Linked DNA regions of Homo sapiens: regions 2, 3, 4, 5, 6 and 7 are each linked to region 1. The links are contacts of gene promoters, found by promoter capture Hi-C in blood cells and fetal thymus (Javierre and others, 2016). All regions are on one chromosome and are shown on one strand. The core of a region is centred on a gene start or on the middle of the fragment in contact, and the rest is flanking DNA. Distances in the headings are between cores, read along the strand shown.

Evidence for each region. The method cuts DNA at HindIII sites, captures the fragments that hold promoters and counts their contacts. A CHiCAGO score of 5 or more calls a contact.
Region 2: a fragment that was not itself captured here is called in contact with the fragment with the promoter of WASL in region 1 in 7 of 17 cell types (non-activated CD4 T cells, activated CD4 T cells, total B cells and 4 more); the score reaches 13.5 in non-activated CD4 T cells.
Region 3: a contact is called between a fragment that was not itself captured here and the fragment with the promoter of WASL in region 1, in 1 of 17 cell types (total CD4 T cells). The highest score is 7.3, in total CD4 T cells.
Region 4: a fragment that was not itself captured here is called in contact with the fragment with the promoter of WASL in region 1 in 1 of 17 cell types (naive CD8 T cells); the score reaches 7.3 in naive CD8 T cells.
Region 5: a fragment that was not itself captured here is called in contact with the fragment with the promoter of WASL in region 1 in 3 of 17 cell types (naive CD4 T cells, M0 macrophages and total B cells); the score reaches 6.9 in naive CD4 T cells.
Region 6: a fragment that was not itself captured here is called in contact with the fragment with the promoter of WASL in region 1 in 2 of 17 cell types (M1 macrophages and M0 macrophages); the score reaches 6.3 in M1 macrophages.
Region 7: a contact is called between a fragment that was not itself captured here and the fragment with the promoter of WASL in region 1, in 1 of 17 cell types (erythroblasts). The highest score is 6.0, in erythroblasts.

The regions. Positions count from the first base shown.
Region 1 is chr7:123,746,723-123,751,088 of GRCh38, reverse strand. WASL (WASP like actin nucleation promoting factor) reads left to right here and starts at 2,086. Exons shown (of 11, transcript NM_003941.4): 1 at 2,086-2,471. The coding sequence starts at 2,355. It overlaps WASL-DT (WASL divergent transcript), which reads right to left and starts at 1,894. Exons shown (of 1, transcript NR_170281.1): 1 at 108-1,894. RefSeq lists silencers at 1,804-2,123, 2,584-2,673 and enhancers at 1,702-2,356, 3,116-3,165. The HindIII fragment of the contact is 6,394 bases long and covers 1-4,366 here.
Region 2 is chr7:124,931,996-124,936,361 of GRCh38, reverse strand. The region is part of intron 1 of POT1-AS1 (POT1 antisense RNA 1); the gene reads right to left. Among named protein-coding and RNA genes, the nearest start is that of POT1-AS1, 4.3 kb to the right of the region's middle. The HindIII fragment of the contact is 1,618 bases long and covers 1,741-3,358 here.
Region 3 is chr7:124,908,933-124,913,298 of GRCh38, reverse strand. All of the region lies in intron 3 of POT1 (protection of telomeres 1), which reads left to right. Among named protein-coding and RNA genes, the nearest start is that of POT1, 19 kb to the left of the region's middle. The HindIII fragment of the contact is 5,639 bases long and covers 1-4,366 here.
Region 4 is chr7:124,887,048-124,891,413 of GRCh38, reverse strand. All of the region lies in intron 6 of POT1 (protection of telomeres 1), which reads left to right. Among named protein-coding and RNA genes, the nearest start is that of POT1, 41 kb to the left of the region's middle. The HindIII fragment of the contact is 556 bases long and covers 1,822-2,377 here.
Region 5 is chr7:124,859,152-124,862,932 of GRCh38, reverse strand. The region is part of intron 8 of POT1 (protection of telomeres 1); the gene reads left to right. Among named protein-coding and RNA genes, the nearest start is that of POT1, 69 kb to the left of the region's middle. The HindIII fragment of the contact is 5,300 bases long and covers 1-3,781 here.
Region 6 is chr7:124,827,989-124,832,354 of GRCh38, reverse strand. It overlaps POT1 (protection of telomeres 1), which reads left to right. Exons shown (of 19, transcript NM_015450.3): 16 at 3,013-3,101. Among named protein-coding and RNA genes, the nearest start is that of LINC03043, 39 kb to the right of the region's middle. The HindIII fragment of the contact is 1,197 bases long and covers 1,640-2,836 here.
Region 7 is chr7:124,766,565-124,770,930 of GRCh38, reverse strand. No RefSeq gene overlaps it. Among named protein-coding and RNA genes, the nearest start is that of GPR37, 3.0 kb to the right of the region's middle. The HindIII fragment of the contact is 912 bases long and covers 1,774-2,685 here.

The DNA.
Region 1 (4,366 bases), core at 837-3,336:
ATATATTAAGTCTTGATCCCTTAGCTCAGGGAAAGCAGAAAAGACCATAGGCAAGGACTGTCAATGGCCGACAACTAATACTTGAGTAACCACTATGTATCAGGTACTTTACATGTGATACCTTTTTTTAATGTCTTATAATTTTAGTTTAAAAAAATTTTAATACACAATAACTGTACATATTTATGGGGGTACATAGTGATGTTGCAATACATATAACATATAGTGATTAGGGTAATTAGCATATCTATCATCTCAAAAACTTATGTCTTTGTTTTGGGAACATGCAATATCCTTCTTCTAGCTATTTGAAACTATACAATATTGTTAACTATAGTCATCCTACAGTGCTACAGAACACTAGAACTTATACCTCCTATCTAGTTGTAATTGTGTATTTTACAACTTTGAAGTAGGTGTAATTATCCCTATTTAGACTATACCTGTATGAAACAGAAATTATTTTCATTTTACAGATGAGGAAACAGACGCAGAGAAGTAATTTGTCCAAAGTCCATAGGGTTGTAAGACTCATAACAAGAACTACAACTTGGGCCTATCTGAATCTTATACTTCTGGTACTATACTTGTTCACAGGTTTGAAAAGAGCTTTAATTTCTATTATTTCTCAAGAATTTGTAATGCTTTCTCTTGTCACTGTGCTTTCAACTTAGAGGAGTTGCAGTTTTGATAAAAGACAAACTGATTTAGCTTCTAGGTTTGTTAAATATGTAATTCAGAGGCAACTCCAGGCTTATATTTCTACGACTGCTTTCTAAATCTAATTATTTTATAAATAGTCCTGTTGCTTTAATTCACTTTTTACCCTAACATAATTAATCAAGTTTAACTTTGAAATCTCCATATTTTATGTGAGAACTCCCAAGGCTATCCACTTTTATTTTCCTTTGTAAATTTATTGTTGCTCAGCCTATTTCATTAATGGCAGCTTTAATTATAATATTTTATTATATTTTCAAAGTGCATGATAATGGTTTACCAGTCTGGTTAGTACATCAGAGATTTCTATTGGGAGCTATCAGAGATGTTAACATCCAACAATTTTACCAAAGTGTAATTGTTATAGACGTCTTAACATGAATTTACGCAACAAAAATATGTTTAATGTGGAGAACAGTGAGATGCATATTTGATAATTCACTGCAGTCTGCATCATCATCTCTATATTCCAAAATTTCGTCTTAAGCCGTTTAGTATTTAACTTACAGAAGAAAGGGGGTTATCTTAGATAACTTTTAATATCCTAAGGTATTTTCCAATTCACGATACAGGGAGAAAAGAAATGTGTCCAGGCCCTTAGAAGAAAATACTTTGAATTTAAATGTGACACATACATTAAACCCGCGTGACACGCCAGGCAGGCGGTGGAAGTCAAGTGCATTTGTTTTTGTTTCATCCACCAGGGCGATCTCTTTCACAATTCTGGGAGAGGCCTGTTTGTTCCTCCACTCCCACAGCTGAAGTTTGGGACAAAGTTTGAGAAAATCCCAGGCACCTGCGGCTCCTATCGAAGCCGGCGAGGAGCACAGGGTAGAGCGTCTCTTCCCAGTTTTCAGTCTTCAGATCGCAGGCCTCTCGGACCCGCAGAGCGAGCTTCACGCTGCAGCGCTTGAGAAATAAGAGCTATTCCAAGGAGGGGCCCTGGGTCCTCACTGACGCTTCGCAAAGGTGTACGTCCGCCCAGGGAAGGCCGGCGGCGCAGCGACGGCGAGGAGTCCCCATCCATCTTCTCTTCAAGCAGCAGTAGCTGGGTTCGGGTACCCAACCGACGAGCCGAGACGCCAGAGGCCAGAGTACGAAGTTGGAAGCCTGCGCCCCAAGCCAACCGGGATTCCACTTAGCTCCGCGCGGTCCGCGCCTCGGCCGGAAGGGGGCGTGGCTTCGGGCCCGCGCCGCGAGGCCCGCCGCCGAGTGGGGGGGTTTCTCCCGGGCCGCAGCCGCGCGTTTCCGGCGCGCTCCCCCGCGCCCTCCGTCCTGTGGTCTCGCCCGCCCCCGCTGCCATGTTGGATTGTGCGGCCGCCGCCGCCGCTGCGGGAGGGTTGGGGGAGGAGTTGGGAGTTTAGCGCAGTCGCCGGAGTGCGAGGACAACGACCATCCGGCCCTAGCCTGGCCGGGCGGGTGCCGGGAGCTTCCCTTTCTCAGCGCGGCGCGAAGGTGGCTCGCCGTCAGCGCCTGCTTCCCTCGACCTCGTCCTCCTCCCCGCTCCGGAGGAGCTGCGAGATGTGGCGCCTCTGACTCCACTTCTCCCCGCCCCTGTCACCGAGAGGGGGAACGAGCTCTCGCCCACTCGCCGGAGGAGACGGCCCTGGACTCCCAACCCCGCCGGCGAAACCATGAGCTCCGTCCAGCAGCAGCCGCCGCCGCCGCGGAGGGTCACCAACGTGGGGTCCCTGTTGCTCACCCCGCAGGAGAACGAGTCCCTCTTCACTTTCCTCGGCAAGAAATGTGTGGTCAGTGGACGAGACCCGCGTCGCCACCCGTGACATTACCTCACGGGCCCGGGCTTGGGGGCCGGGAAGTGGGAGTGGGGAAGGAGGCGGGAGCGGCGCGGGCCAGGCCTCCCGCCAGCCCCGGCCCCGGCCCCGGCCCCTCGTCGGCGCCCTCGCCCTGCTCCCAGGGTGCGGGCCGTGGCGGTCGGGCGCCGCCTTCCCGAGCTGCTGGAGAATAAGGGAGTGTCACCTCCGCAGGCCTGTCCTCCAGCCTGGCCGGGCCTCGGCCCGCGCCCTTGCTGCTGGTTAAAACTTTATTCTCAGGCCACAAGGGGATTTTCTTGCAAGAGCCGCTTGGTCCTAGAATCTGGGCCCTTGTTCTAGCTCTCGCTTCACCTCTTACTGCTTGATCTGGGGGTACGTTCCTTAACAATGCCAGGTTTGAGGAGTGGATAGGTCGGGGAAGGAAGGTGGTTTTTAATCTCCCATTAGGATTCCAGGAGGGAATGAAGTCGAGTGCAAGAGCCTGGGCTCTCTTCGGATTAGAGAGGGTGCAAGAAATGTTATTGCTCTTCGTTAAAGAGAAACAAGATTTATTTCTCTAGCAACCTTGCCTAGGCCTGGTTTCTACTCTCCTTCCCACTGATTTTTTTTTTCCCCCCATTGGTGGGAGGGGGTGCTGCTCTCCCCGCAGCCATGCGCAGGGAAACCTCAATCTCTGGTAGCTCTTGGCTTTTGGGGCCGAGAATGATTCTTAGTTTGGTGCTGTGCGGCCAATTCCAACCCCAGATGGCCGGTTGGGAGCGAGCAGTTCTGCTGTGGGAAGGGGAATGTGTGTTGTTGACGGAAGCATTCATTACATTGGCTGCTGGCAATTCTGGGGGTGGGGAGGTTCTGCTCTGTGGTGTAGGCCTTGTCGGGATCATACTGCGGTGACTGGGTTGAAGTGTGGTTTGTTGAAATACTGGCTGGATCCCTTTCTCTCCACTTTGCTAGCACCTGCAGAGTATGTGCCACTGGAACCCAGAAAACACGGAAATTTCAACAAAGCAATACCATTTTATAACTCCTTTAAGTAATATTAGGTATGCCAAACCAGATTTCACCTGCTTCTTTAAGAAGTTAGGATTAGACAATTTCTGGAAAGTTATTGGATTCATTGTTAACTTCATAGGAGTCCACCCTTTGTATCTTGTGCCATCCGGTTGGAGATTGAATCGTTCCATTCAATTTCAGATGTGTTTCATATTTCGGAATTTAGACCTTAGAGAACATTGAGTTTCCTGATTAGAAGGATGAAACAAGAGGAGTGGCTCAAAACGAGAATTTTGGGTAACAACTTTAAGCCCCTCCCCATTCACACACACTTTTTTCAACAAATGAGAAAACTGATCCAGTGAGCCCAAGTCATACAGCAATTTAATAATGTAACCAGAACTAGAAAACCAGGACTCCTCACACCTAGTCCTATCCCATTGTACTTTGCACTACATCATGTTGTTTTAGAAGGGTATTTTTTTTTCCTGTTACTGATTTATTTCTAAAAGTGGTGTTAAAGAAATAACCACTTTGCCTTTTTCACCAAAAACTAATTAAAATACAAGATTCTTAAAGCACCACTAATGTTTGCATATGCTCAGTTTAGGAAAATCTTCAGCACTTTGAATGTTAGTTACCTCCAATGAAAAAAATTCAGTTGCTGGTTTAGTAGATTAGCTATGTAACCTGTATCAAAAAGGAAGTAGTTGTGCTGTGTTCTACATACCAGACACATTAACTTTAGGCAGAAAGGACATTACATTTATACACAAGTATACTAATTGTTCTGTGCTTACCTGTAGTTTTACTGGTTTCGAAAAATGGCAGATGGGGAAAAATACTGTGATAGAGAAAAATGATGTTGCACATTGGTTAGT
Region 2 (4,366 bases), core at 1,300-3,799, 1.2 Mb before region 1:
TCGTGATCCACCCACCTCGGCCTCCCAAAGTTCTGGCATTACAGGTGTGAGCCATTGTGCCTGGCCCAATTTACTGGGTTCTTAAGAGACAGATTCTAACTGGCTCCATCCAGGTAATAGATTGGCTGCCTCAGGAGTCAAGTGATCAGGTGATTATCTCAGTGCAGCCTATAGTCAGGATGGAACAGGATCAAGTGCATAATATCAACATGGCTACATATACAGACTTCTGTGTTTGGAAGGCAGCTGTTAGTGGAGCGTGAACTGCATAAACATGCAAAATGTTGTATATATGGTTATCAGATAATTTTACCACTAGAGGATGCTTAAATACGAGTCTTTCAAAAAACTTTTGGTTTAGTTATTTTTAGTCATGTGGCTAAGTGATAAAAGTAGTGAAAAAAACCTTTAATTAAAAAAAAAGCAGCTAGTCATTTAAATTATTCATTCAACAATAACCAGTGTGAACATTTTATGAATATCATTTCAGATATCTCTGTATAATACATAGAATCAGAATTAAGCTACTGGCCAGAAAGACAGAATTAATTTAAAATAAAAGAATCATAGATGATATTTTAAATTAAAAGTATTAATTTAAATTTTATTTGAATTAATCAAAAGAGAAAACAGTTTAAGTAAAACTGAAGGGATGATTAAACTTTAGATAAATGATTTTTTTCCCCAACAAAACACATAAATTCTTATAAGAATCCTCTGATCTGGAAGAAAGCGAGCTGGAAGAAGAAAGTGCCCATTCGTGTTATGGCACTGAGATGAGCCATGGCCTTTTATTTATTCTCAGGAAACAGCCAACTCTGAGTCTTGAGGGTGCTCAGGCTGACTTTTAGCAGCAGAACATCTAATTCACTGACAAGCCTTGAAGGCTTACTCTGTGCTTAGAAAGAGGTGAATATATATCTATAAAAATAAAATTATATGCCATAGATTAGAAAATTTAAAGAAAAAGATCCCTGTCTTTTCAGAATCACTAGAGAGATTACAGTGATTATACAGAGTCTTGAATTTTACAAATTGTTAGACAACTAAGGGAAAGAACATGGCATAGCCAAACACTTGTAAATATTACCGGAGCCATAGCTGTAATTTATTTCTAATCCAAATCAAGGCACAGAAAGAAAATAAAAAAGAAAACAGGACACATCTGAAGAAGGTTAATTACATGCCTAGAAAAGAGATCATCTGAGAGGCAAACATTCAGGGGAGATGGTGCCCTGACCACAAATGTGAACATCCACATATATTTCTCCAGTAGACTTGACATGAAACTCACATGACTTGATTATGTTAGGTTGTAGGATCATCCAAAAAATTTTCTATGTTGAAATTCCATGCTTTCCCAACAACCAAGTGTTTATAATTTGGTTCCTCATAAGTACTGATATTAACATAATGCCATATTCCAGATATATAGCTAATAATTTAAAACATTTGGTTGGAATTTAATACATTTGTATTACCAGGTTTTTTTAAAAATATCAATGTGAGTTTGTTTAATGTGAGCCAGTTTCACCAGTCACACTCTATTTTTTTGTGTCTAATATCTGAGCATGATCACATAAAATCATTGCCTGTATGAGGGTTATATCTGTGGCAGTCTAGGGATAGCAAAAGAAGTGATGAGTTTCACCTGAAGAGCAAAATTAAGGCTGAATACAGGGTTTAGAGAGTATTTAAGAAAAAAATATATGTTTTGATTAGCCCATAGTTTTTTAAGCTTGAAGCCATATATTTTTATAGGACTGAAATGTACTACAGGTAACTAAAATTTGCCTTGATTATATTGCTGTATTTTCATCTCTGCTTAATTCTTACTTCTCAGGAAGACCTAATGTGACCTTTCTATCTAGGTCAGCTTCTTCCATTATATACTTTCCTAGCACCATGACTATTCTCTGTATCTCACATCATAATCGAAATTTTGCATTGGTTTATCTGAATTTTAAAAAGATATTCTGTCTCCACTGCAAGATCCAAATCAGCCAGGGCCATGCCTGGTTGTGTTTAACTTATTGTTAGATGGCCCTGCTCAATTTCAGATACTTGGTAAATGTTCCCTGAATATTCATTAAGTTTACATATTGCCTTTTTTTAAACATATTAAAAACATGTTATCAGAAATGGTGGCTCACGTCTGTAATCCCAGCATTTTGGGAGGCCAAGGTGGGAGGGTCACTTGAACCCGAAGTTTGTGACCAGCCTGGGAAGCACAGTGAGACTTCACGTCTGCTAAAAATAATTAGCGGAGCACAGTGTTGCCTGCCTATAGTCCCAGCTACTCAAGAGGCTGAAGTGGGAGGATCGCTTGAGTCTGGGAGACCGAGGATACAGTGAGAGCTAGGATCTTCCTACTGTATGCCAGCCAGGGCAACAGAGTAAGACCCTGTCTCAAAAAAAAAAAAAAAGAAAGAAAGAAAGAAAGAAAGAGAAAATGTTATACATGAGTTATATGAGGAAACATTTATTTATATTTTTTGGGAAGTCATACATTTCTTATAGTCTTTCAACAAGAGAAAGTTCGTATTTGTAATTCATTCATATGGATCAATACAGTATAATATATTGACCTACTTATAGTTTATAATTAAAATTTGAATATAGGTTATTTTTTTCCTTGGACAATTCTTTTTTTTTTTTTTTTTGAGACAGAATCTTGCTCTGTCGGCCAGGCTGGAGTGCAGTGGCACGATCTCGACTCACAGTAACCTCTGCCTCCTGGGCTCAACCAATTTTCCTGCCTCAGCCTCCAGAGTAGCTGGGATTACAGGGGTGTGCCACCAGGCCCAGCTAATTTTTTTCGTATTTTTAGTAGAGATGGGGATTCACCATGTTGGCCAGGCTGGTCTTGAACTCCTGACCTCAGGTAATCCACCCGCCTCGGTCTCCCAAAGTGCTGGGATTATAGGCGAGAGCCACCATACCTGGCCCAACAATTCTTAAAATGAGTAGCAACTGAAGGAAAGACAATTTTTTAACTGATGAGGATTTTTTTTTTTTTTTTTTGAGACGGAGTCTCGCACTGTTTCCCGGGCTGGAGTGCAATGGTGTGATCTCAGCTCACTGCAACCTCCACCTCCTGGGTTCAAGTGATTGTCCTGTCTCAGCCTCCCGAGTAGCTGGGATTACAGGTGCCCGCCACCACACCTGGCTAATTTTTTGTATTTTCTGTAGAGACAGGTTTTCACTATGTTGGCCAGGTTGGTCTCGAACTCCTGATCTTGTGATCTGCCTGGTTCGGCGTCCCAAAGTGCTGGGATTACAGGTGTGAGCCACTGTGCCTGGCCTAGGATATTTTAAATAATAAATTAAAAAGATTTATTATTAAAGTACAAAAGCTTTTGAGAGACCTCTTCAATGGATAATAATGTTTTCTCAATTTGTGGTACCTAATATTATGTTTTAAAAATATCTTTATTTTGCTTCCTAGTATGCACTGAGTGATTACATGCTTTACCATTTAAATTTGTAACTTAAACATACATTTGAGAAAAAATTATGTTTGATTTATCTCCTGGCTCAGCTACATAACAATATAAAAATTTGATGCTTTATTGAAATAGGATTTTACAAATCCATTTAGATGTTCATTAGGATTGGGCAGAAAGAATATTAGACACAAGGAAATGAACTCCAACTAATGTAGCCTAGCTATTATTCCTAGAAAATCTCAGGAGTAAGAAGATGATATTGTCAGGCTCTAGAGATGCAACCTGATGATAACAGCTTGCAGGACAGATGGACTGCAAACAGGAATGGGTTAATCACCCCACAATTAATGCAAAGGAAATGAATTTGAAGTGCTGGACATGTTAGGCAATTCAATTTTACATGTAGACATTAACAAGTAAATAGTAAAGGATAATATGAAAATGCTATGAGAGGGAAGATGTGTCAGAAATTTGCAGACTAATTTCTTTCACGTTTGATTTATTTATGATAACTATACTGAATCCTTATATTTATACATCACTTAAAAATTACCCATTTTGCTTTTAGTCTTCATTATTTATTAATGAAAATTTAATTTTAACTTTTCTTAAAATGAACATTTTTACATTGCAGATTTTATATAAAAACTTTTTTCATTGAACCTTTAAAAGTCATAACTTCTAATAACAATTACATTAATTGTTAGCCTTAGAGTAGCTTTTTTATGCTGCTTCAACAGGCATAGAACAATAGTAATGGATTGTTTTGGCATTAATATGTCTTCATTGCCTTATTCAGTTGATTCAATCTCTTTTTTTCCTCTCTTATTATCTTAAATTGTACTGTATATTCATGAGCAATTTTCTTCATTTGTGGAAATTAATTGCTAATGTGAGGGAAAGCATTACAGGCTCTG
Region 3 (4,366 bases), core at 1,386-3,885, 1.2 Mb before region 1:
TTTGATTTAGTGTATCCTCAAAGAAGAAATACAATACTGATGGTTGTTGATATGGTTTGGCTGTGTCCCCACCCACATCTCATCTTGAATTGTAACTCCCACAATTCCCATGTGTCATGGGAGGAACCTGGTGGGAGGTGATTGAATTATGGAGGCGGGTCTTTCCTTGGCTGTTCTCATGATAGTGAAGGAGTTTCACGGGATCAGATGATTTTAAAAACGAGAGTTTTTCTGCACAAGCTCTCTCTTTGCCTACTGCCATCCACATGAGATGTGACTTGCTCTTCCTTGCCTTCCGCCTTGATTATGAGGCCTCCCCAGCTATGTGGAACTGTAAGGCCAATATACCTCTTTCTTTCGTAAATTGCCCAGTGTCGGGTATGTCTTAGCAGCTTGAAAATGGACTAATACAGTGGTCCTGGCATTCTGGGGAGTATCTTATCTTTTGAGGCTGTGGCCCTCTGTTGGCTTTCTGGAACTGGAGCCTCTGCAGTATACCTTGCTAGTCTTTTGTATTTGAAATATTACTCTGAATACATCTGTGCTTCCTGAAGGAAATAGGAGAATTTGCATGTATTCATTAAGCCATTCACACATTTATTAAACAATATATTGAATACCTATGAGGAGTCAGGCCCTATTCCTAGACACCGATGAGCCAAACAAAGTTGTCCTTATGCAGCATACGTTCTAGGGAAGAAAGACAATAAACCAAAAAAAGTAAATATATACCTTTTCTAGTTGGAAACAGTGCTATGGAGAATGTAAGGCAGAACTGTAAACATGAGAAGGGGAGGGAAGGTATATATTTATCTGGTGGTGAAGAAAAGACTGACAAGTAACATTTGATAAGAGACTTCAAAGAAGTGATGTGAAGTGATCCTTCAGATATTTAAAGTAAGAGTATTCTAGAACAGTCTTAGCAAGTACAAAGGTTCTGCAGTGTGAGTGTATGTTTCATTTATGTCAAGGAGAGGCTCAGGGTATCTAAAACCCAGCAGGTGTGACTTGGAGTTAAAACCCTTAATTCCACTGAGTTTTTTTTTTTTCCCCCAATTTTAAAGATGGAGGTAATGATATCTGCTTTTCTGGATTGTTGAAAGAACTCAAGACAGAATATAGCCACTACTAGCACATAGTGGGAACTCAGTACATAGCAACTATTATTATTGTCATTACTATTATTGTAATTAGATACAGCCTCAGTGAGGAAGAAGAGAGTAGAGGGAAGACATCTGAACCCTGAGCCCAGTAGTTTAGCTTCTAATCTCTGCTTTTCTTCAGTTAATTATTGGCCCTTGAGTAACATTGAATGTTGCCAGATTCAAATTTAATCAAATATAAAATAAGGGTTTTGGATTAGCTGAGAATTCTGAATAGCTATGACATACAGTAGTTGCAGAAATTGTGGTGGTTTAAATAATTCAATGCCCTTGAGAAATGGTACCATTTTTGTAAAACCTGTGGGGTCTGGAATAAAGATCCATTTCAAGCAAGCTGTTAGAACATCTGCTTTTATTTCCTTGTTACAAGAATTTTGTGATACATTGTCAAACTCAGATTTTATCTTTTTTGCTCAAGTTGCTGTGAAGAACTGTTAAATCAGTTAATTTTTTTCTCACTTCTACTTTGAACAAAGAAAAGGAAAATCAGTGTCGTGTTAGTTTTCCATCTGCAATGCTGTTACTAATCAGCGGTATATCTTAAAACCTTGCTTTAGAATTTAGGGAAGTAATGCATTTGCCATACAGTTCATGTCCTAAAGCTCATAGAACAAATCATCGGACCATTTCTCTGAGATTGATTGCTGATAAAATTTTTAAAATATTGATTGAAATATAGTTCTAATCTAGTCGATGTGGCACAAAAATTCTAGAGACAAATATACTACAAAGAAGTCTCTTGACAGTCATCAGGGAAGGACACTAGGAAATAAAACAGAAAAAAGCGTGAGTGCACATACACACAATCATGCCTGCTTGAGGCGATGTCAGATAGGAATTAATTGCTCCAAATGAATCCCTTTGTAAATATCTATTTTGATAAGGTGCTTTTGTTAGTTGGTGGCCCCAGTAAAGGTCTGCTGTCATTACTGTTATTTGTATTATTCTTCCTCTTGAAGGCAAGACTTTATTTCAGCTTAGTTAAAATTATTAATATTTGAGATGACATTTCTAAATTATTAAGAATTCAGTGTTGGTAGCTTATAAAAATTTTGCATTTATGAATGTTAAATAAATGTCAGGTGCAAATATGAATACAAAATCTCATTCACTAAAGAATTTTTGAAACATTTGTTTTAACATAATACAGAAAATAGTGTTGGGGTAAATGTAGGTAGAGTTGCTCTGAGAGAGGTGTGTGTACATTATATTTGTATGAATACATTTAAAAATGTATTTGAGTGTATCAATGTGTTATGCTTTTTCTCATGACTCTTAGGGTGTGTCTGATTGTATACCTGTCTGTATTACACACCTATGTGTGTTTATGTTTGTTGGGAATTCATAACTTAAAGGGTTTTTCTAGTTAACATTTTAGATGTTTTGAGGTATGATGTAAAGAGATGCAAATTCTAATTTCTTGTGAGGTAAGGAGATTAAATAACTTATTTTTCTGTTTCTTTTCCTATCCTTTGTTTATTTTACATAGTTCAATAGCAAATAAGGTCTATATTTAAAGAGCCATTAGATAGTAAAAACCACTGTTTCTTTTTCAAACGTTTATTATAGCCAATTTTTAACATTTAACCAGTTTTTTTCAGAATTAAAATTTAACTAATAATATTATATTTGTATGAAATCTTACAGATTGCAAAGTGTCTTCGTATATGTTTTTCATTTAAGTATTAACTGTTAGCCCTCTGTGATGATGGTGATAAGCACTTTTATTATGAAGATAACCCTCTAAGGCTAACATTTGTTAAAGGACTTAGAATAAGTAGAGAAACCGCTCTATCTCCACACCTTTTTTTTCTTACCTCATGGTAGTATTATGGACTTGACAATCTTGCAAATATTTGTCTGAGAAGATTTTGTTGTTTTTGTGTAGTCATGATTTAAAAACATTCAGACAGTATGGCAGGCTATAAACTGAAAAGCAAAAGTTCCCTCATTCCCACTGAATCCCTTGCCATTTCCTAGTCCCATTCTTCAGGTAAAAAACACTGCTATGCTTTTTTTAGTACCCTTCCAGGTTTTTTATATGTGTGTCTATATATGTGCACATGCTTTTGTGTGTGTCTGTGGGCATGGATAAGCCTGTATGTGCATATTTTTCACCAAGTAACTATCTGTTTTTTGCAAGGTTGCTTTATTTTTACCTAATATATCTTGGATATTTTAGAGATGTGTTTTAAAAATAAATACATGCTATCGAATATCAGAGATCAATTTGTTTATATTTTAAATATATTTCACCTTTATCCTTTAAGATTTTTATATTAAATGTTTATTTGAGAAACAGTATAAAAGGGTTATGCTATGAATTAACAAAACATGTATAGTACATCTACAAAACATGTACATTACATTAGGTATTAGTGTTTTACCTGACATGTGAAGTGTTTTCTGCTATTGAAATACATTTTAAATAGGTATTCATTAAAATAGAATAGAACTACACTAGTTAATTAGTACCTGTCAGATAACAGAGGTTGTTAATAATGGTAAGTCAAGGTTTCTTGCTTTTAAAATATAATGATGTGAAGACTGAGGTCACATTTACTTTAAATTATTTCTGGATTTAAAACCCAGAAATGCTGATTATTTGAGGGTCTAATATACCAATTTATTAAAGTATCAAGGTTGAAGATTGTTCCAACCCAAAGGTAAAACTTTTTGCTTAAAGGAATGAGTTTTCTCCAATTTGATTCTTAAACCCTTCTTTGCCATTTGCTTGTTTGCTTAAGGGTAGCGTTGTATTTGAATACAATAATCCTAAAACACTAAAATGAATTTTAACAAGATTTTAATCCTTGCTTTGGTAGACTAATGTGATATATTTTGCAGAAATACACAAGCTGTAATTAAGCCTTCCTCTGTATGAGACATTTTTTGTTTTAGTTTTCATATTTTAAAGTCAGTTTTAACATTTAATATGTGGACATAAAATATGAGGAAAGACTTTTCCAAAGTATTCTGAAAGTTAAAAAAAATTACCCCAAAACTGTCAAAAATAAAGACACTTATTAATACCTTTTTTCTCCCTGTATCCCTGTTAGAGTTAGTTCTGAAAGAGGAATTAGAGTGGTGCCTGTCTTGAAAGTCAGGAGATTTGGCTTCTTGTCTTGGTTCATAGCTAATTAACTGTATGTGACCTTAGATCATTTATTTATTCTCCCTTATCTGAAAAATGAAGATGTTTG
Region 4 (4,366 bases), core at 850-3,349, 1.1 Mb before region 1:
TAGATTTAAGGACACACATAGGCTAAATGAAAGTGAAGGAATGGAGAAAGATACTTCTTGCCAATGGTAACCAAAAGAGGAGAAGTGGCCATACTTACATCAGACAAAAGAGACTTTAAGTCAAAAACTGTCACAACAGGCAGTTTTTGGATATCACATAATGATAAAAGGGTTAATTCACCAAGAAAATATAACAATTATGTATGCTGCTAACATCAGAGCGCTTAATCCATGAAGCAGACATTTCAGAAGTGAAGGGAGAAATAGACAGCAACACAATTATAGTAGGAGGTTTCATTTCACCACTTCCAATAATGGGGGAGACCATCCAGACAGAGATCAATAAGGAAACAGAAAACTTGAACAACACTGTAGACCAAATGGACCTAACAGACGTATCAGACATATGCAGAATATTCTACCCAGCTACAACAGAGTATACATTTTTCTTAAGTGCACATGGAACATTCTCCAGTATACATAACTCGTTAGGTCACAAAACAAGTGAATAAATTTAAAATAGCAAGATCTTTTCTGACTTCAATAAAATCAAACTAGAAATCAATAGCAGGAGGAAAATTATAAAATTTAGATGTGTGGATATTAAACAATACACTCTTGAGCAATTAAGGAAACTCCATGCTGTTTTTTATAGTGTTTGTACTAGTTTACATTAAAAAATGTATGCACCTTGATGATAAATACAGTATTGCTAAAAAATGCTAAGGATAAGTTGAGCCTTCAGCGAGTTATCATCGTTTTGCTGGTGGAGATGATAGGTTGATTGGTCAGGATGGAGTTTTCTGAAGACTGGTGTAGCTGTGACAGTTTATTAAAATAAGACAATACTGAAGTTTCTCATATCAATTGACTCTTCCTTTTACAAAAGATTTCTTTGTAACATGAGATGCTGTTTGATAGTATTTTATTCACAGTAGAACTTATTTCAAAATTTTAGTCCTTGTCAACCCTGCTGCTGCATTATCAACTAAGTTTATGGAATATTCTAAGTCTTTTGTTGTCATATCAAAAATATTCATAACACCTTTACCAGGAGTAGATTACTTCTTAAGAAACTATCTTTCCTCATCCATAAGAAGCAACTCTTCATCTGTTGAAGTTTTATTATGAGATTGCACCAATTCAGTCACAATTTCAGGCTCCATTTATAATTCTAGTTTTCTTACTGTTTCCACCACATCTGCAGTGACTTAATTCCACCAAAGTCTTGAACCCCTCAAAGTCATCTGTGAGGGTTGGAATTAACTTTTTCCAAACCCCTGTTGATGTTGGATTTTGACCTCACATGAATCATGCATGTTCTTGATGTCATCTAGAATAAATACTTTCTAGGTTTTTAATTTACTTTGCCGCAGTCCATCAGAAGGATTGCTATCTATGGTGGGTATAGCCTTATAAAAGGTATTTTTTTTAAATAATGACACTTAAAAGTAAAAATTATTACTTGATTTGTGGGCTGCAGAATGGATATTGTATTAGCAGGCATGAAAATAACATTGATCTTGAACATCTCCATCAGAGCTCTTGTGTGACTAGGTGCACTGTCAATGAGCAGTAATATTTTGAAAAGAATCTTTTTTGCTGAGCAGTACGTCTCAACGTTGGGCTTAAAGTATTCAGAAAGCCATGCTGTGAGCAATGTCATCCAGGCTTTGTTGTTTCATTAAAGAGCACAGGCAGAGTTGGTTTTGCTAATTTTGAAAGGCCCTAGGATTTTGAGACTAAGTGAGTATTGGCTTCAACTGAAAGTCATCAACTGCATTAGACTCTCACAAGAGAGTGAACCTGTTTTTTGAAGCTTTGAAGGCAGGCATTGACTTCTCCATAGTTGTGAAGGTCCTAGATGGCACCTTGTTCCAAGAGAAGACTGTTTGGTTTACATTGAAAATGTGTTGGTTTGTGTAGCCACCTTCGTTGATGATCTTAGGTCTTCTGGATAACTTGCTCCATCTTCTTCATCAGCACTTGCTACTTGCTGTTTCACCTTGTACTTTATCTTATGAAGATGGCTTCTTTTCTGAAATGCCATGAACCAATGTGATAGCTTCAGATTTGTCTTCTCTAGCCTTCCCACCTCTCTTGGCCTTTAAAGAATTGAAGAGAGTTAGTGCCTCATTCTACTTTAGGCTTTGGCTTAAGGGAATGTTGTACTGGTTTGATCATCTATGCAGACGACTAAAATTTTCTGTGTATCAGCCATAAGGCTCTTTGACTTTCTTCTCATTCATGTGTTCACTAAAGTAGCACCTTTAATTTCCTTCAGGAGCTTTTTCTTTGTATTCACAACTTGGCTAACTGGGCACAAGAGTCCTAGTTTTCAGTGTATCTCAGCTTTGGATATATGCCTTCCTAAGCTTCATCATTTGTAACTTTTGATTTAAAGTGAGAGACATGTGACTCTCTCACTTGAACACTTATAGGCCATTATAGGGTTATCAAGTCATCTAATTTCAATATTGTTGTGTTTCAGAGAATAAGGAGCCTCAGGAGAGGGAGAGGGGAATGACAGGTTGATGGGGGAGTTAGAATACACATATTTATTGGTTAAGTACACTGTCTTATATGGGTGTGATTTGTGCTACCCCAAAACAATTATAATAGTAATGCCAAAGATCACTGATCACAGATCACCATAACAGATACAGTGAAAATGGGAAAGTCTGAAGTATTGTGAGGATTACCAAAATGTAACATAGACGCACATACTGTTGCAAAAATGGTGACAGTAGACTTGCTCAATGCAGAGTTGCCACAACCTTTAATTTATAAAATTGCAGTATTACAAAGTACAACAAAGTAAAGTACAATTACATGAGTTATGCCTTTATTAACATGGTCATACTACTCAGTCATCTCAGATTCAATGTATTCCCTATCAAAATCCAAGTAGCATTTTCTATAGAAAAATAAAAATCAATCTTCAAATTCATATGGAAACACAAAGGACCCTGAATAGCCAAAAGAATCCTGAGAAAGATCAAACCTGGAGGCTTCTCTCTTTCTAATTTCAAAATACGTTAAAAAGTAACAGTATTGCGACAGTATGGTACTGCCATGAAGCCAGACATACTGATTAATGGAATTGAATAGAGCGCCTAGAAATAAGCCCACACGTTTATTATGGTCAACTGATTTTCGACAAGGGTGCAAGAATATATAATGGGGAAAGTATAGTCTCTTCACCAAATGGGGCTGGGAAAACTGTATATCCACATGCAAAGAAATTGGATCCTTAGATCCTACACAAAAAAATCAATTCAATGTGGATTAAAGACTTAAGAGTATGACCTGAAACTGAATGTTCTGGAATAAAACAGGGGAAAGGTTTCCTGGCACTGGCCCTGGCCATGATTTTATATACATATATACATATATATGAACTGATACAGAGGTGTATATATATTTGGATAGTTTTAAAAGTAAAGTAAAAATGTATAACCTATTAATTGCTATATGATAATGTAAGGTTTTAACAAACATGTAAACGAAAACATCAAAAGCCATGAATTTCAGTTTATTGTGAGGTAATAAAGTGAACAGAAACACACACTTCACCTGTGTTTAATTTAATTTTACTAAATTTAACATTGTTTATTGTATTTCATCTATTCTAAAACACCATTATCTGTAAAAGGCTTTATCATTTTATGTATCATTCAGAAGGGAAAAATGCTAATTAAACTATGCTTAACTGTCAATTTTAAGATAGAGCCGTATTTCAGAGATGTTAAATAGTGAAACATGGATGTTGTTGATGAAATGTAGACTTTATCTCCTGCATGCCAGGAGTTGTGATCATGTTGCAAACACAAAGATGTTCTCATTGACTTCATATTACAAAACCATTTTTAAAATAAAGATATACAAATTTTATTGTTGAGGAATGAACTAGGAATCTACTCTTTGGTCAGGTGGATGTGGGAAAATCTTTTTCTTGTGGTCAGCATATTTTATTAACGTATAATGTAAAAAAAACTAGTCTGTGTGTAAATGAACATTGCGAAGACTATTAAATACGGAGATAAGTTTTAAATAAACCTCATACTAAGCCTGAAGACTGCAAAGAATGTTTTGTGGAAAATCCTTTTAATATCTGTTGTTGTAGAGGAAAGGGGAACATTAAAGTTGAAGTAGAGAAATTTGTGCTTGAAGACCTATTTTTCAAATATTCTCATTTCAGCTTATTCCCAGAGTCTTCATTTCCCCACCCCATCATACTGTTCAACATAAACTCACATACTTTTCCCTTAGTAGTTTCCTCTCCCCATCAATTTTCTTCAAATGTTACGTGTGCTGCCCCTTCTGGGAGTTAGCCATAAAGATGTAATCACTATGATCCTCTTCG
Region 5 (3,781 bases), core at 415-2,914, 1.1 Mb before region 1:
TACTTCATAGTCATACCATGGACAGTTTTGAAGCATTTTGCATTACTGTGTTTTGCTTTTAAATCAGCAAGATAAAAAAATAACTTAAGACCCATCAAATCTCTGTATATACCTATCCCAGTTTAGAGAGTAACTTCTGGAGAAGCTGGATGTTTGATGTTTTTCTTGCCTGGACATCCTATGGAGGATACATTTGAACAAATGCCTCTTCAGGCCTGCTCCTATGGTTATTTCTCTCTATACTATCTTTGGAATAATAGGGCAAGAAATGGAATGCAGTGGCACTTGGACAAGTCATGGAGTTTAGCATTATTATGATTTACACCTTGCCCATATTAAAAAACAGAGAAGTTAGAAATCATTGAATAAAATACAAAGTTCTAGCAGTTGAAAATAGCACACTCATATACACATGGAATATTATGAGAAAGTCGTAAATACATGCCCTGCAGAAAGTTAAATAAGTCAAATATGATAAAGCTGAAGCTAAAGCAATATAAAATCAAACAAACTTAGAGCGAATCTAGGTCAACCAGTCATACTCTGGCAAAAGTGACATTCTTAACAAATGAGCATTTGCTAACAACTGAACACTTCCTATGACAAGGACTCTACTACTATGCACTGAGGCATATTCTATCTTTTGACTGTGTTTTTAGAAAATTCTTAAATTCTAAGATAAAATGTGCCAACTTTTAGCTGAAATAGTTGAGTCTACATTTTCTCTCTGCAGAAACACAGCACATACCTGCATCCCATTGTAACAGATAACTTTTTTGGACAAGTGAAAACCACTGTCACGTAACTGTTAGTTTAAAATACAATATTGAAAAGTCAAAAAAGAGCCCATATAGCCAAGACAATCCTAAGCAAAAAGAACAAAGCTAGAGGCATCATGCTACCTGACTTCAACCTGTACTACAAGGCTACAGTAACCAAAAAAGCATTGTACTGCTACCAAAGCAGATATATGGACCAGTGGAACGGAACAGAGGCCTCAGAAATAACGCCACACATCTACAATCATCTGATCTTTGACAAACCTGACAAAAACAAGCAATGGGGAAAGGATTCCCTATTTAATAAGTGGTGTTGGGAAGACTGGCTAGCCATATGCAGTAAACTGAAAGTAGACCCCTTCCTTACACCTTATACAAAAATTAATTCAAGATAGATTAAAGACTTAAACATAAGCCCTAAAACCATAAAAACCCTAGAAGAAAACCTAGGCAATACCATTCAGGACATAGGCATGGGCAAAGACTTTATGACTAAAACAATAAAAGCAATGGCAACAAAAGCCAAAATTGACAAAAGCCAAAATTGACAAAGTTAAAGAGCTTCTGCACAGCAAGAGAAACTATCATCAGAGTGAACAGGCCAACCTACAGAATGGGAGAAAATTTTTGCAATCTGTCCATCTGACAAAGGGCTAATATCCAGAATCTACAAGAAACTTAAACTAATTTACAAGAAAAAACAACCCCATTAAAATGTGGGCAAAGGATATGAACAGACACTTCTCAAAAGAAGACATTTATGTGGCTAACAGACATATGAAAAGAAGTTCATAATCACTGGTCATTACAGAAATGTAAATCAAAACCACAATGAGATACCATCTCACGCCAGTTAGAATGGCAATCGTTAAAAAGTCAGGAAACAACATGCTGGAGAGGATGTGGAGAAAAAGGAGCGCTTTTACACTGTTGGTGGGAGTGTAAATTAGTTCAGCCATTGTGGAAGACAGTGTGGCGATTCCTGAAGGATCTAAAACCAGAAATACTGTTTAACACTGCAATCCCATTACTGGGTATATACCCAAAGGATTATAAATCATTCTCCTATAAAGACACATGCACACGTATGTTTATTGTGGCACTATTCACATTAGCAAAGACTGGGAACCAACCCAAATGCCCACGAATGGTAGACTGGATTAAGAAAATGTGGCACATATACACCCTGGAATACTATGCAGCCAAAGAAAGGATAAGTTCATATCCTTTGCAAGGACATGGACGAAGCTAGAAACCATCATTCTCAGCCAACTAACACAAGAACGGAAAACCAAACACCGCATGTTCTCACTCATAAGTGGGAGTTGAACAATGAGAACACATGGAGACAGGGAGGGGAACATCACACAATGGGGCCTGTTGTGGGGTAGGGGGCTGGGGGAGAGATAGCGTTAGGAGAAATACCTAACGTAGATGACGGGTTGATGGGTACAGCAAACCACTATGGCACGTGTATACCTATGTAACAAACCTGCACATTCTGCACATGTATCCCAAAACTTCAAGCAAAATTTAAAGAAAAGAATTAGTAAAAGCCTTTCTTACAACAATTTAAGAATAAGCCTCAAAAGTCTTTTTGTACCCTTCAACTCAGCAATTTTATTTTCATTATCTTAAGGAAATAATTTAAAATATTTACAAAGGTGCATTTAAAAGAATATATTTATCTTTCTTACAGTATAAAAAATGAGAATACAGTAGAAAAATTAGAAAAAAACAAATACTAACAATAGAGAATTGTGTACACTATTTATGTAGGATGACCATAAAATAACATTGTAAATGTCACCATAAAATACTTTGTAACCATAAAATGACATTATAGACATACACTTGTTGAGATAGAATTTCATGATGGTCTATTTAGTGATTACTGTAGTTTCATTTACACACTAAAAATGTATATGTACATAGCAAAAATATATTGGGAGGCCTATAAAGCAACATTTTACTGTTTTCAACTCTGGGAAATATGAGTGATTTTTTTTTTCCGGACAGTGATTTTCTTATGTATCAGAAATAATTTTTAAATTATATTTTTTAATAACAGAGGAGCTAGACATTACTCGATATAATGTCTGGTTACATACAAAATAGTATAATCATTTTCCATCTCAACCTGGGCACAATATTAATATTGGTACCTTTTTTACTAACCACAGTGCATTTATTTTAATTTTTCAGTAGCCGTGGTATACCAATCGTTTGCATTAAATATAATTTAATAAATTTGTTGATCTGACATCATTCCATATTTTTCTCTATTCTGTTAATATTATATGTTTTTTTTTTCTGAGCAATACTCTCAAATTGAGTTTTCTCTAAATGTATATATTCTATTTGTTTTAATATCTACAGTATTGGTGCGGCCTTATCTTTTGTGTGTTTTGTTTTATGGTTTTTTTTTTTTATATAAATAACCAGGCGTCATTTATAGCCAGAGCTGGTGGGTAATTTGTATGTCTCACCTGTAATACGGTTTGGAGAAGAAAAAGCATAATGTGAACCAGAAAATCATCATATAAAGGAAATTATTCAAATTTACAACATTTACTTCTTTGTATGGAAACATCAGAATAATGCTTTACAACTAATTTAAGAATGAGACTGAATCTCATAAAAATAATTTGATTAATGTCAAATGTATTACTATTATAATTTTTAGAGCATTCATAATTTTACTAGTTGTATTTATGTGCAAAAATATTTTAATACATATGAGTGTTTTTCAAGATCATTTTGGTTTGTTTTTATTGTATAAAGCACTTGACTCAGGAATATTTAGTCTGAGCTTATGGCAGTGTGACTCTTTTTCTCCTTTACATTCTTCTACATTTTCCACATTACCCATATTTCATATGTAGTTCTTTAACAATCAGAAAATAATGTCATATTTAAAATAGTGCCAATATTCAGAGGCATAAGTTTAATTACTTTTAAATACTGTTTCCAGGAAAAAACTTTTTAGCACAAGCATTTTT
Region 6 (4,366 bases), core at 989-3,488, 1.1 Mb before region 1:
ATTAAAAAAGTAACATCACAACAATTACGTATCCACCATTTAGATTTAACAAATCGTAACGTTTTGACATTATTTCAGACTTTTTTTTTTTTTTTTTTTTTTGGAGACAGTGTCATTCTGATACCCAGGCTGAAGTGGCATGATTTCAGCTCATTGTAGCCTTGACATCCTGGGCTCAAGCAATCCTACTATCTCAGCCTCCCAACTAGCTGGGACTACAGGTGCACACCACCACACCTGGCTAATTTTTGTAGGGATGGGGTTTTGCCATGTTGCCCAGGCTGTTCTTGAACTCTGGAGTTCAAGCAATCTGCCTACCTTGGCCTCCAAACTTTTTTTTTTTTTTTTTTTTTTTATTTTTAAGAAATTAAATGTTACAGAGAAGTAGTATAATGCCATATCAATCCCTTCTCTAACTCTTTTTTCTCAGAGGTAGCTACTTTTCCAAACTTGGATTAAATCCTTCTCATCAATGTTTTTATGCCTTCATTATATGTGTGAACTCTTAAGCAGTATGGCATATTTTTCATTTTTTAAATTTATATAAACTGTTTCGTACTATGCCAAGCCTTTTGCAGCTTGCTTTTTTTGATTCATTAAAATTTTCAAGATTTACCACTATTGACGCATGTAGATTTAGATTATTTAACATCTTTGGAGTATGTTATGAAATATCAGAATTTATTAGCCTATTTTCCTATTAATGGATATGTGTTATTTTTTGTTTCATTTACAGACCATAATGAAGTCACGTTATATGTTTTCTTGTCTATTTCCCTTGTCATAAAATGAGTTCAGTGGGTCATAAACAGTTTTTTTTTAAATTATATGATGTGGTTGTAGTAAAAAATGGAATGAGAGGGAATGGATAATAGAGAACATTTTACACAGTAAGGGTCAGTGTTGTTTCCTAAACTTTCATTTCAATTGTATGTGTATGTATGTATTACTAAGATATGATATTAAATGAATTTCTTACTGTGAGTCCTTAACAAAAATGTTTGAAAGTTACTCCTAAGGTGTTTACCTGAAATTAGAATTACTGGATTATAAGGTGTATATAAGTTTTGCTTTATGGGAAGAAATACCAAATTGTTCTTCCCATGGTTTTAACAATATATGGTCCCATCAGTAATGTATAAAATTTTAGTTTCTACCAAGTTCACTCCAACACTTGGTATTAGTCTATTTCTGTCTGATACTTGGCATTAATTTTGTAATTTTGTCAGGCCAGCGAGCATCAGATGGTATCCATAATGTTTTTATTTGTATTTCCTAGATGTCTAGTGTGTTTAAGCAGCCCCCGTGTTTATCAGCTACATAGGTTTCCTACTCTATGAATTCCATGTTCACATCTTTTGCCTGTTTTTCTATGTGGTTACTGATTTCTTTGTTGGTTCATGTGTGAGCGCACATACATGTAATTGATTGTAAGGTTTCTTTCCGTGTTAGAGATACTAATCTTTGTCAGTTTCATCCATACTTCTAGTGTATTCCATGCCTTTTTAACTTTATGGTTTCTTGTGTTTTATAGGTTTTTTTAAAATTTTTGTTTGGTAATTGCTTTATAGGTTACTCTCATCCCTTTGCTTTCAAGTTTCTGGCATTCTAATTTGTATGTCACTCATAAATAAAAGCTTATGGCTAAATTTTAGTTTTAATAGTGGAGTTTAAATATGTTCTTAAGTTATTGATATATTTAGTTTATGTTTCTAATTTTTTCTGTTTCCCCTTTCACTGCTTTGGAAGTAAGTAGTTCTGTATTTAATTTTGACTTAATATCCTTAATTTTTAATTTTTATACTAACTTTAATAATGTCTAATGCTAATCAATATCGTAGTCTTTTTCTTAGGCAATAATATTCTTTTGTTAAATTGACATCTTTTATTAGAAAAGAAACACCTATATATTTAATAAATAGAAGGGTATAAGATGTAATGTGGTTACCCTCTTGTTTTCCTCAAAGTGCAAATGAAAACAAATTGCATGGACCTTTCGAACTTTTATTTTTATTCAAGTATATCTTTTCAAGTATATTTTCTTATCAACATCTCATAAACATTATGATGATGCATAATAAAAAATAAATTACTCATAGTTAAAATATGTTGGTATTCAAGTAAAGCAAAATAACTGTACTACACAATGCACAACTTTAGTGTATTGTGTAGTCTTAGATTTATATACATTTCAAAAGTTAACTATGGAATTAGGCATCATAAACTACAAACCTCTGGATATGTGCTTACTAAAAATATTAATTATCTAGAATCTTGCATGTTGTGACTGTTTAGTAATTTTTCTCTATTGGCCATATTTATTAACACTTTGAATTTATTAAGATATTACTTACAGAGGCCAGGTATGGTGGCTCACACCTGTAATCCCAGTACTTTGGGAGGCCAAGGCAGGCAGATGGCTTGAGCTCAGGAGTTGAGACCAGCCTGGGCATTGTGGCAAGACCCTGTCTCTATAAAATTACAAAAATCACCCAGGCATGGTGGTGTGCAACTGTGGTTCTAGCTACTTGGAAGGCTGAGGTGGGAGGCTCACTTGAGCCCAGGAGGCAGAGGTGACAGTGCCTGGGTGACAGAGTGAGACCTTGTCTTAAAAAATATATATATATAGATATAGATATAGATATAGATATAGATCATAGAATCAGAGAATTCTTAGAGATGATCATTTTCTTCAACTTTTCATTTTAACAAATAAGGAAATTGAGAGCAAAATTAATTAATGATTTGGACCTGGAACCGAGCACCCTGTTCTCAATTTAGAGTTGTTTATTCTGAATCTTATACTGTCTTTTTTATTGCCCTTATGTAATAAGCTTACTCTTTCATAATTCTCTTGTGAAACAAACAAGCACATTACAATATAGGGGATGCAGTATTCTTCTGTTTAATAATTTATATTTTAAAACTACACATGTTTGAGCAGTAAAAAGTTATAACAAACAAGCTAAATTATTTTTAAATATTTATGGTTCTTTCTTTTATAAATTTCAGATGTAAACAGTGTTCTAGTTTGAGATCCATACAAAATCTAAATTCCCTGGTTGATAAAACATCGTGGATTCCTTCTTCTGTGGCAGAAGGTTAGCTAAATTTCCATGCCCTGCAATTTTAACTGTTTGTTTACAAGGTTATTTCACCTACTTATATTTCAGTATACCTGAAAGTATACCTGTTCCTTCTTTGTATACTTATTCCTTCCTCTGTAAGATAAACAGACTTTGTAAATTTAAAGATATCTGCCAAGCCTTCCTTTAGTCTGTATTTCTTCAAGCAGGCACCGTCACATACTTTCCCCTATGCCTTACTATTTTGTTTTTCCTCCTCAGTAAGCATTCCACTTTACCAGTGCTTTTCTCAGAATTTGGCATTCAGAGCTGGACATTGTGCTGCAGATGTTGTTTGGCCAATTCAGAATAGAGTGAAATTATTATTTACCTGAAACTGGACACTCAGCTTCTACTAGCCTGAAATGTCATTGTATAGCTATTTATTTGTACACTTGGTTTTGTTTTCTTTCCTTTTTGATACAGCCATCTCATGTTTTATTTGTGGTCCAGTGAAATCCTAGGGTCCTGTCACATGAACTTCTTGAACTTGGTCTTCTCATTCTATTCTTAATGTAATTTTTTTTTCTGTCACATGAACTTCTTGAACTTGGTCTCTTCGTTCTATTCTTAATGTAATATCTTTGTTTTTATGGTTCCTGGGAGTAGGTGCTAAGTTCATCTTTCTTAGTTTTAGTTCACAGTTTTAACCTATTGAGACCTTTTGAAGCCTAAAATTCAGTTCCCCTGTATTAATGTCTGTTGTATGCCCTAGTTCATGTCTGTATGTCCTAATTTATTCTTACTTTCCCTGTTAATTAGTTATACTGTTTAAATATGGGTTCCACAGATAAAAGCTAATAAAACATTCTATAAATTGAGTATCTTCCATTTCCAAACAAGAAGATATTTATCTTAACCTGTGAATTTTCATTTTACCCAGTATGTCTAATTTCTTATTTCTTCCTTATCTTACCAAATTATTAAATCTCAGATTCTGACATTCTTGTCCATTCAACCAGATGATATCCCTTTTTTCTTTTTTAAAGTTATAAATTATTCCCCTAGCTTATAATAGAAAGGAGAGAGGCATGCTAAAACGGTATTTAACTGCATGCTATTTTTTAGAATATTCTGTATTTTAATTTTATCTTTCATAAAACTAACATGCAATGAGTTACATTTCATGAATCACTTTTTGTGGTTTCTATGGAGGCTATCAACTGTTTTTTTTATTTATTTATTTTTATTTATTTTGAGACAGAGCCTTACTCTGTCGCCCAGGCTGGAGTGCAGTGGTG
Region 7 (4,366 bases), core at 980-3,479, 1.0 Mb before region 1:
GCCAAGACTCAGGTCTTAGACGTACGTGTTCATTGAATTGATTTCTTTGCCAGAGCTAAAATTTAATAGGTTGCCAGGAGAGCCAAATCAATGGTGTATTATCTTTTAAAATCCCTTCTATCTCAACTTTTCACTTTTCATATAGAAATCCATGCTCTTCCTTACTGACTCTGTATACAAAAATTATTCTGGTCAGAATACTAAAAATTCCAATTTGCTAGCCTTTGTTATTTGAACCAGGCTGACACTTCTGCAATTTGGCTTGACTTGCATTTATTCTAGTGTATTATCCAGTATCAACATTACACAGAAAACTAATTTAAATAATAATGCTTGGTCAGAGATGGAGCAACAATATAGAATAAGATGATTTGGTTTAAACAGTCTCAGAAGGAATCTTATTGATATAGCATACAGCTTGTACCCAAATTCTGGGAGAAGGAAGTAAAATGTATCTTTATATCACATTTATTTTGGTATATCTTTATATCACATTTATTTTGGTATTATAAAGATACAATAAAATGTATCTTTATATCACATTTATTTTGGATAATTGTTAAAAAGTTCAGCTTACTATGATTTTTGGAAGATTTACAATTAATGTGCTTGCTAGGGAAAATACACAATTTGAGAAGTCATGAGAGGCTGAAGCCTGAGATGGTCTGATCTCCTGCTACATTGCTATTGGCTGAGGGCCAACTAAGTATCCAAATTATCTTTGCTTCAAAAAGGATGTTGATCAAAAGGTAGGGGTGCATTTCACAAGCATTTATTTCTATAAAGAATTATGAAAGGTTGAGAATGTTTGGTTATGCTTGTGTTAATTCATCTTCAGTTTCACCCTTTTGCATTCAAGTTTCTTTACAAACAACAACAACAACAACAACAAACCGAATCCAACAAAACCCAAAGGACTTGGCTATGCAATTAGTGTGCTGGTCCAAGTATGGTTCAAACATATTTTATGTAGCCCAATGTCTACATTTTTGTCTGGAATAAATAAAAGACTATTTTGATTATTGTTGTTTTATTTTAAATTTTAAGTACTTTAATTTTGATATTTGATTTTTAAGGTAGACATAACCATATTGATATTATATTCCAAGCAGTGCCATTTCCCACCCGTTAATGATAATTTGGCTCTTATATATGGCAAAAGAGAGAGGTGATTAATGAAGGTGATCAATGGAGGCTTCCAAACTAACAATTAATAATTCAGTGACAGAAAGGCTGCAACCACAAACTATTTGGAAAACAGACAAATTTTGAATTTCAGAAAATAATAATCTATTGGTGGTATGTTACAGTTTCTTTCAGAAAAAATGACCCTTTTGAATTATCTGAGGCAAAAAAGAAAGAAAATTATTTGATAAGTGAATTGTGTGCTGGGTAAAGCTTCTGTTCAACGATGTATCTTAAAACTTGAAATAGTAATTTCTCTCATTCTGTGATGTGTGTTATTTCAGCACACCAAACACCAAATGAAGTGTAATAGATTTTATAAAAATGCCAAGGCAGGTAATAATTTACATGTTCTTTTTTTATTAAAAAAATCAATAGTATGTATTATAAACCTTGTGAAATGCTGACACAGGAAAAAAAATCCATGTTCAAATCAGTTTTCTTTGTACAGATAAATGGCCTCAGATGTAAACCAGACAATGATTAGCTAATTCCTTTTCTGATCTATATTTCTAAAGTAGAATCTACACAAATGAATGAGATGTGACTATTTCCATTTAAAATTTATAGTTACAGCTGAGCTAAGCTTTGGAAAAATATTTGAAGATGTGTGTTTTTCTTTTTGCAGGGAATGCATTCTAAATTTTCTTATAAACCTATTACTTTACACTTTTATTTACCAAGCATATTCTTTTTCAAGGATTATGTGTTTTTGACAGCATTTAAATTTCACTAAAAACAAAGTTGAACTACCAAGAGCAACAGTAATAAATATTTTATACTTTATGTAGTCTTTTCATATCTACCTAATCCACATAACAACTTGGGTGAGCAGAGCTGAGAGTAGGTATTAGTATCCTTATTATACAGATGAGAAAATTGTGTTTCCAAAAATATAAATAATTGATATTTTTGGAAACACAATTTTATAAATAATTGATATTGACCTGGGCTCCAATAGAGTAGCTGGAGCTCTTTGGTTTTATTCATGGTCCGAATAAGTTAGAGAACCAGAACTTGGCAACCATCCAAGTAGGTAGGCATCATTGTTCAGGTTAAGGAAGGGACCACTCATGAATGAGATACCACCACAGACAAACACAGGTAGCTCCTCCTTCAGGCCTTTCCCCAGCCACTCTCCAAGCATGGTACCTGAGTTCTATAGCCCACCACTTTAAGAATGATGCCCAACTCTGGGCCAAGCATGTGTGAATTACAATGGAGCTTCTAAGGGAGCAGGTAAAGGGATTTTTCCCTGTTTAGCTTTGATTCCTTTCTGTGTAGTGATAGAGATTAGTGACACATTTATGTGGTCTAGAGTAAAAAGGATAGAAACATATCTTACATGTGTAACTTAAACTCTAAGCTAATGAGATGAGAAGGGAAGCTATATCACTGTTTCATTTTGGCAACTTATTTTTCCTGTTTCATTATTAATCCAGATTTCCCTCTTCTAAATTTTTTTTAAAGAAACAAGATACTACAGTTAGAGTAGAAGCTTCCTTCCATCCCATGACCATTCTTCTATTTCCTGAGGTGACTAATATTCTGAAGTTGATCTGTATTTATTCCATTCACATATTTTATATGATACACCATGTATGATTATCAAATTGTTTTATGTGCATTTTAAGAGCTACACAAATGGTAGCATTATATAGTTAACACATCAAGTTCTACGTTTTTCCCTTACATTTATGTTTCTGAGATTCAGTCTTGGTGATACACATAAGCCTAGTTTGTCCTTTTTATGAGTATACAAGAAAATATAAATTCAGTGAGAGCAGAACTTTATTTTATTCACTGCTCTGACCTAAGTAACTTGAGCAGAATATTTCTTTAATGAAGTAGTGAATTTGAGAGAATGAGTTAGTGTATATAAATGAATGAATTAATGTACAAATGAATGTGTGCTATTAGCTTATATTTTTTCCTATTTCTGGCTTTGTCTGATTTTGACATTAAGGTTATTCTGCCTTCACAAAATGAACTGAGTAGCTTTAAAACATTTTGTATAAATGTATATTTATTCCGCAGGATATGCTAAGGTCTAGCACTTTCCTCTGGGTAGATCTTGATGAATGATTTGATTTCTTTAATGTTATAGTTCGATTACAGTTTCTGAAAATTTTCTTCTTGAACTATTTTTGGTAGTTTATGTTTTTCTATACAATTATTCCTGTTGTCTCCATTTTTAGATTTAATGGTGTATTAGTTTACTATTGCTACTGCAACAAATAACCATAAATTTTGTGGCTTAAAACAACACACATTCATTATCTTACAGTTATGGAGGTCAGAAGTCTCAAATGGGCTAGTAGATCCTTTTTTATGCCCATTCTAGCTTCCAGAGATTGCCCACATCACTTGGCTTGTGTTTGTTTTTACTCTGACCCTCCTGCCTCTCATTTGTAAGGGCTCTTGTGATTATAGTGTACCCACCTGGATAATCACGATACTCTCCCCATCTCAAGAGTCTTAGCTGAATTGCATTGGCAAAATCCCTTTTGCTCTGTAAGGTAACATACTCACAGGTATTAGGAATTAGGATTCGGACATTTTTTTGGGGGGGCATTATTCTATTTACCACAATTGGTATCATATGTTCCATTGTGTTTTCTCCTGCCTCTCTAGATGTGTTGCTTTAAAAAAATTCAGGCCGGGTGTGATGGCTCACGCCTGTAATGCCAGCGCTTTGGGAGGCCGAGGCGGGCGGATCACGAGGTCAGGAGCTCAAGACCAGCCTGGCCAACATAGTGAAACCCCGTCTCTGCTAAAAATACAAAAAAAATTAGCCGGGCATGGTGGCGGGTGCCTGTAGTCTCAGCTACTTGGGAGGCTGAGGCAGGAGAATCGCTTGAACCCGGGGAGGCGGAGGTTGCAGTGAGTCGAGATCGCACCACTGCACTCCAGCCTGGGCGACACAGCAAGACTCTGTTTAAAAAAAAAATTCAGAATGTGTTTATTTCTTCCTCTATCATTTTCTCTTCATTAATTTGTCTATTTTATTAGCTATGCCCTGACAGTTTTGACAGGGTTGTGGGATATAGTAGAAAGGTTGGAAAGGCATGGACAGCCGTGCTGGGAGTGCTGTTCGAGTAATTTTCTGCCTCCAGTCATTTCCCACTACTTCATCAAATACAACTACCTCACTATGCTCTGGGTGGTACGAAGTAACCCA